2 separate regions of the Homo sapiens genome follow, and region 1 is linked to region 2. The links are contacts of gene promoters, found by promoter capture Hi-C in human tissues and cell types (Jung and others, 2019). All regions are on one chromosome and are shown on one strand. Each heading gives the region's core, a stretch centred on a gene start or on the middle of the fragment in contact. The rest is flanking DNA. Distances are from core to core; before and after follow the strand shown. Region 1 overlaps MLPH (melanophilin). Region 2 holds the start of PRLH (prolactin releasing hormone).

Region 1 (2,963 bases), core at 53-2,552, 60 kb before region 2:
CCCTTCACCCTGCGTGGCTCACCAATCCTGTCCAGACCCCATCATAGGAGCGGCCTTTCCTTCCTGTTCCCGTCCTAGAAGCGTTTTCCTTCCCTGGTATACGCCCTTTCTTCAGAGGCTGCCGGGCCTCCCTTGAGGACAGGAGTGCCCCCTTGGCTCTGTTCTGCCCCACCAGTCACAGCTCTGGCATGCGTGTCCCAGGGCCCTCTGGAGGTGGGACTGCAGAGGACAGTAATGTGGGTCCCCTGCCCCAAGGACAAGGACAGCACTTCCCTTCCACCCCCATGCATCCCCGTCTCCAGGGCTCTGTCTCCCCTGGGAGCTCACTTTCTCGGCCTTTGCCATCATCTCCCCACTGTCTCCCATCGCTTAGTCCCTTTTCTCCACATTCTGGGAGGGAGAGCAAACTTGACTTCGAAATCAGCAGTTCTCAAACCTTTGGGCCTCAGGACCCCTTCACATTTCCTAAATTACTGAGAACCCCAAAGAGTTTTATTCATATGGGTCATATCTATTAATATTTACCACATCAGAAATTAAAACTGGGAGTTAAAAATATTTATTTATTCACTCATTTAAAAATAACAGTAAACCCCCTACATGTTAATATAAATACAGTTTTTATAAAAAATGAGATTTTCCCAAAATCAGAGTGTGAGTAAGGTGAGTGGTGTTGTTCTGCTTTTGCAAATCTCTTTAATGTCTGTGTAGCAGGACAAGCCACAGACAAGAACTCCTCAGACACCGAATTGTAGAAGGAAAGGGCTTTATTCAGCTGGGAGCATCGGCAGACTCACGTCTCCAAAAACCAAGTTCCTCGAGTGAGCAATTCCTGTCCCTTTTAAGGGCTTACAACTCTAAGGGGGTTCATGTGAGAGGGTCATGATCGATTGAGCAAGCAGGGGGTACGTGACTGGGGGCTACATGCACCTGCACCAGTAATTAGAATGGAACAGAACAGGACAGGGATTTTCACAATGCTTTTCCGTGCAATGTCTGTAATCTATAGATAACATAACTGATTAGGTCAGGGGTCGATCTTTAACTACCAGGCCCAGGGTGTGGCGCTGGGCTGTCTGCCTGTGGATTTCATTTCTGCCTTTTAGTTTTTACTTCTTTTTTCTTTGGAGGCAGAAATTGGGCATAAGACAATATGAGGGGTGGTCTCCTCCCTTATCTGGAACAATAGAAGATGGGTGAATTCTCCACTTGCTTCTGCATTCAGTGGGTCGTAACATGTTTTCTAGGCTGTAGTATTTGAAGAAAATCTAGGCTCATACAGATACATAATTGAAAAAAGGAGTACTTGAATAGCCTTTGTAGACAATAATTAACATCATGTGTTGTTACAACATGAAAACCCGGCAGTTGGAGTTGGTAGTTTTTTTCCTTTTTCTTTTTTTTTTCTTTTTTTTTTTTTTTTTTTTTGAGACAAAGTCTCTCTCTGCCACCCTTGGATGGAGTGCAGTAGCGTAATCTCGGCTTACTGCAACCTCCACCTCCTAGGTTCAAGCGATTCCCCTGCCTCAGCCTCCTAAGTAGCTGTGACTACAGGTGCGTGCCACCATGTCTGGCTAATTTTTGCATTTTTAGTAGAGACAGGGTTTCACCACATTGGCCGAGCTAGTCTCAAACTCCTGACCTCAAGTGATCTGCCTGCCTCAGCCTCCCAAAGTGCTGGAATTACAGGCATGAGCCACTGCGCCCGGCCAGTTGGTAGTTTCTTAAAGGTTAGTTGTGATGTGGAATCTGAAACCATGTTAATGAACTTTTCCTTTTCTGTTTGTTCAAATCCATTGGTCTCTCTTGCACTTGAAGTGGATTTTCTACCCCTGTGTGATTTTTGTAACACCATGCATTAATCATTTGGAAGACACCGGCTCACTGAGTGATGCAGACTTCTCAAATGTTGACACATTTCATATGCACACCAAAAGAGAACCACTTCTGTTACTCTCACCAGCGATCTCATCAAAAGTCTCCCGGTGTTGGAAACCCTCATCAAAAGTCTCCCAGTGTTGCAAACTGTCAAGCTCACAGCAGGCGATATATGTTTTCCAGAATTCTACTTTGTGCTTGAAAGCTTCCGTTTTATTACTGGCAATAAATACTGTCACTTCTTTTCCTTGAAGTGAGAGTCGCACTTTGTTCATTTTTGAGAAAATATCTGCCAAGTACCCAAGTCGAAACAGTTCATCTCTCTGTTGTTCTCTCAAGTGAAAATGCTATTTCATAAGAAAAGTTTCTAGCTCAGGTGGCGATCGGAACAATTGCCCAATCCTTTTAATAGAAATATCTGTCACCTTCAACACGTGGCACAAGAGCTTCCTGTCCTCCTCCAAGCTCATCAGGCAGAATCCTCAAAAGACATGGACTGGGGGCCACGGTTCAAAAAGACTCATAACTTTTAGGGTTTCATCAAGGTGATTCTTTAATGAAACTGTTTTTTCTTCTCATTTCTTTTTCTTTTTTTTGAGACAGAATCTCACTCTGTCACCCACGCTGGAGTGCAGTGACACAATCTCGGCTCACTGCAACCTCTGCTTCCCTGGTTCAAGCGACTCTCCTGCCTCAGCCTCCTGAGTAGCAGGGATTACAGGTGTCCACCACTGTGCCTGGCTAATTTTTGTATTTTTAGTAGAGACGGGGTTTCACCATGTTGGCCAGGCTGGTCTTGAACTCCTTACCTCAGGTGATCCACCTTCCTCAGCCTCCCAAAGTGATGGGATTACAGGTGTGAGCCACTGCACCCAGCTCATTTCTTTTTCAATGAAGGATCTAATGACTGTCAGAGCAGTTGGGCCCACTGCCCTGACTCGTGCTAAAGCCTCAGCAGTTTATCCACCATTGTTTTTACACCTTCAGTGCAGGCATCAAAGAGCAAAGAAAAGGCAAATGATGTCTCAGCATTATTACAAAAATAGCTTTGGCCTTGTGACTCACCCCCCTAAAGGATCTTAGGA
Region 2 (3,375 bases), core at 678-3,177:
GAAGAGGTCCCAGATGCTACAGGCTTACCTTGGAGCCTCAGAAGACTGGATCTAGCGTCATGGCAAGGGTGAGTGGGCTTACTTAGGGCAGAGGATGCAGACTCATTCTACGACACGCAGCTGTCGGCTGACATTCCCCAGCAGGGCTGGGCTGGCAGGCTGGAACCAGGCATTAGGAGGCGCTGAGATGAATGTGGGAAGGGGCCGTGCACCGGATTCCAGCCCCTGAGCCTGGTCCAGGCTTGGCACTCCCCAGCTCCCCAACCATGTCTGAGGTTGAGCAAGGGGCTGCCTCCACCTGTGCAGCTCCCTGGGCACCTCCCCACAAACCTGCTGTCCTGGGTGTGCAACATGCACAGCCGTGCAGAGGCCTGCTGCACCTTCTGATCCCTTAACACAGGCGGACAGACGGACCCAAGGCTGTTCCATGACAGCCCCCCTTTATAACGCGTAGCTCACACCTCCTGAGGGCTTTCTGATCATGAGCATCAATGTACATGTGACCGATCCCGTTAGAGGCTGACGCGCACAGAAGCATCTCACTTAACACCTCATTGCGCAGAGGAGAGAATGGGGTCACAGGCGGGTGGGGGACCATGCAGAGAGCCAGGTTTAACTGCTGTTTCTGTGCTTATTCCCACCTCAGCACAGATCAGAGGAACACGTGGAGATCTATGTGGCTATGTGCACGCGCACATCTACACACATACATACACATCTACACACTCACACACATCTACACACATACATACACTCACACACAACTACACACACATCTACACACATACACACACATCTACACTCATACACATCTACACACACTCACACACATCTACACACGTACACACACACATCTACACACACATCTACACACATACACATCTACACACATACATACACACATCTACACACATACACTCACACACCTACACTCATACACACATACACTCACACACACATCTACACATGTACACTCACACACCTACACACATACACATCTACACACACTCACACACACATCGACACACACACATCTACACACATATCTACACACATACACACATCTACACACATACACACACACACAGCTACACACACATCTACACATACACACACATCTACACACATACTCACACAACTACACACACATCCACACACATACATACACTCACACACAACTACACACACCTACACATACACACATCTACACACACACATCTACACACATACACACAAACCTACACACATACACACATCTACACACAGACACATCTGCACACATACACACGCATCTACCCAATACACACAGACACACTACACACATACACACACATCTACACACACACACATCTGCACACATACACACATCACACACTCACACACATCTGCACACATACACACACATCTACACACATACACACAAACCTACACACATACACACATCTACACACAGACACATCTGCACACATACACACGCATCTACACAATACACACAGACACATCTACACACATACACACACATCTACACACATACACACATCTGCACACATACACACATCTACACACATACACTCACACACATCTGCACACATACACACACATCTACACACATACACACACACCTGCACACATACACACATCTACACACATACACACACATATCTGCACACATACACACACACAGGCACCCATGTGCACACACCACACCCTCTTGTACACATATACATACACAGCTGTGCACTCACATGCACACAGGCTCATGCACATACTTCTCTCTCACACACAGTGCTCACTCTACCCAAGGTCCCAGCTCCGTGCACACGCACCCTGATGCCTGTGTGACGCTGCTCCTGCCCCTTCTCCCCCAGGCCGTGTCCTCCTCATTTGGATCTCCCCTCCAGCGGGGCCTCCTCGGAGGAGCCAAGGGATGAAGGTGCTGAGGGCCTGGCTCCTGTGCCTGCTGATGCTGGGCCTGGCCCTGCGGGGAGCTGCAAGTCGTACCCATCGGCACTCCATGGAGATCCGCAGTGAGTGCCTGGACCCCTGTCAGCCTCCCTTACCCCACCCTGCCTCACCCCAGAACCTAGTGCAGCCTGGTCGCTCGAGAACCTGGCAGGAACGGGGTGCGCGGGAGGAAAGGGAAGTCAGTCTTGGTGCTTTTTTGAACTCCTGCTTCCCAAAGCCAGCCCACGCCCAGAAATGGCCTCGCCAGAACCTCTGGGTGCCTGTTCCTCGGGTGGCTCCCAGCATGGCCTGGCGACTGGGCTGAGAGGCCCTGCCTGTGCACTCTGCCCCGCTGCCTCTGGGAGCACAGCACACCCTGGGGACACGTGCCCATGGTCTGCTCCAGCTCTTTCCTTTCCAGCCCCTGACATCAATCCTGCCTGGTACGCCAGTCGCGGGATCAGGCCTGTGGGCCGCTTCGGTCGGAGGAGGGCAACCCTGGGGGACGTCCCCAAGCCTGGCCTGCGACCCCGGCTGACCTGCTTCCCCCTGGAAGGCGGTGCTATGTCGTCCCAGGATGGCTGACAGCCAGCTTGTCAAGAAACTCACTCTGGAGCCTCCCCCACCCCACCCTCTCCTCTCCTTCGGGCTCCTTTCCCTTCAATCCTAATAAAAGCTCTGGTCTTCAGTTACACATTCACGACTGTGTGGTGGTGACTCTGAAGTTGTTCCCTCCTGGGACATTAGACTAGAAAGAACCTCAGAGCCCAGCAACTTCTTTGGAAGAAAAGGCTTTGTGACTTGGCAGAGGGCACTTGGCACTGAGTTGGGGCGCTGGGTCTACCCTTGGTCACCGGCAGCCCACAGCCACCCCCACACCCAAGCTGCCCTGAGTGGCTGCCCAGGCTGTCCACTGCAGAAGGCCAGGAGGTGCCACGCGTCATACTCTGCAGGACACTGTCCCCATAGGACGGTAGCACAGCCCCCAGCCTGAGCCCTGGGCAGCCCCTCAACTTCAGTCCTTTTTATTTAGACTATTTTTCAGAGCAGCTTTAGGTTCACAGCAAAATTGAGTAGAAGGTACAGAAAGTTCCCATCCACCCCCTTCCCCCACATCCGCACAGCCTCCCCCATGATCAACACCCCCACCGAGGGTGCTTTTGTCCCAGTCGAGGAACCCACACTGACACATCCCCATCCCCAACCAGCGTATGTCAGAGCCCACTCTCCACGCTGTGCGTCCTGTGGGTTTGCACAAATGTACAACAACACGATGTGGCATCACGCAGAGTCGTTTAACTGTCCTAGAAGTCCTCTGGGCTCCCCCTACTCATCCCTGCACCCCGCAACCCCTACAACTGCTAGTCCTCTCATTGCAGTCTGTCTTGCCTCCCTCTTACTCAGGGAAGATGCATCATGGATTGTTTCTGA

The links. The method cuts DNA at HindIII sites, captures the fragments that hold promoters and counts their contacts. A contact is called where the count stands out against the background at its distance.
Region 1: a contact is called between a fragment that was not itself captured here and the fragment with the promoter of PRLH in region 2, in 7 of the 25 tissues and cell types used here (IMR-90 fibroblasts, aorta, bladder and 4 more).

The regions. Positions count from the first base shown.
Region 1 is chr2:237,505,656-237,508,618 of GRCh38, forward strand. All of the region lies in intron 2 of MLPH (melanophilin), which reads left to right. Among named protein-coding and RNA genes, the nearest start is that of MIR6811, 3.8 kb to the right of the region's middle. The HindIII fragment of the contact is 6,955 bases long and covers 1-2,963 here.
Region 2 is chr2:237,564,647-237,568,021 of GRCh38, forward strand. PRLH (prolactin releasing hormone) reads left to right here and starts at 1,928. Exons shown (of 2, transcript NM_015893.1): 1 at 1,928-2,027; 2 at 2,366-2,529. The coding sequence starts at 1,928. The coding sequence ends at 2,529. The HindIII fragment of the contact is 10,563 bases long and covers 1-3,375 here.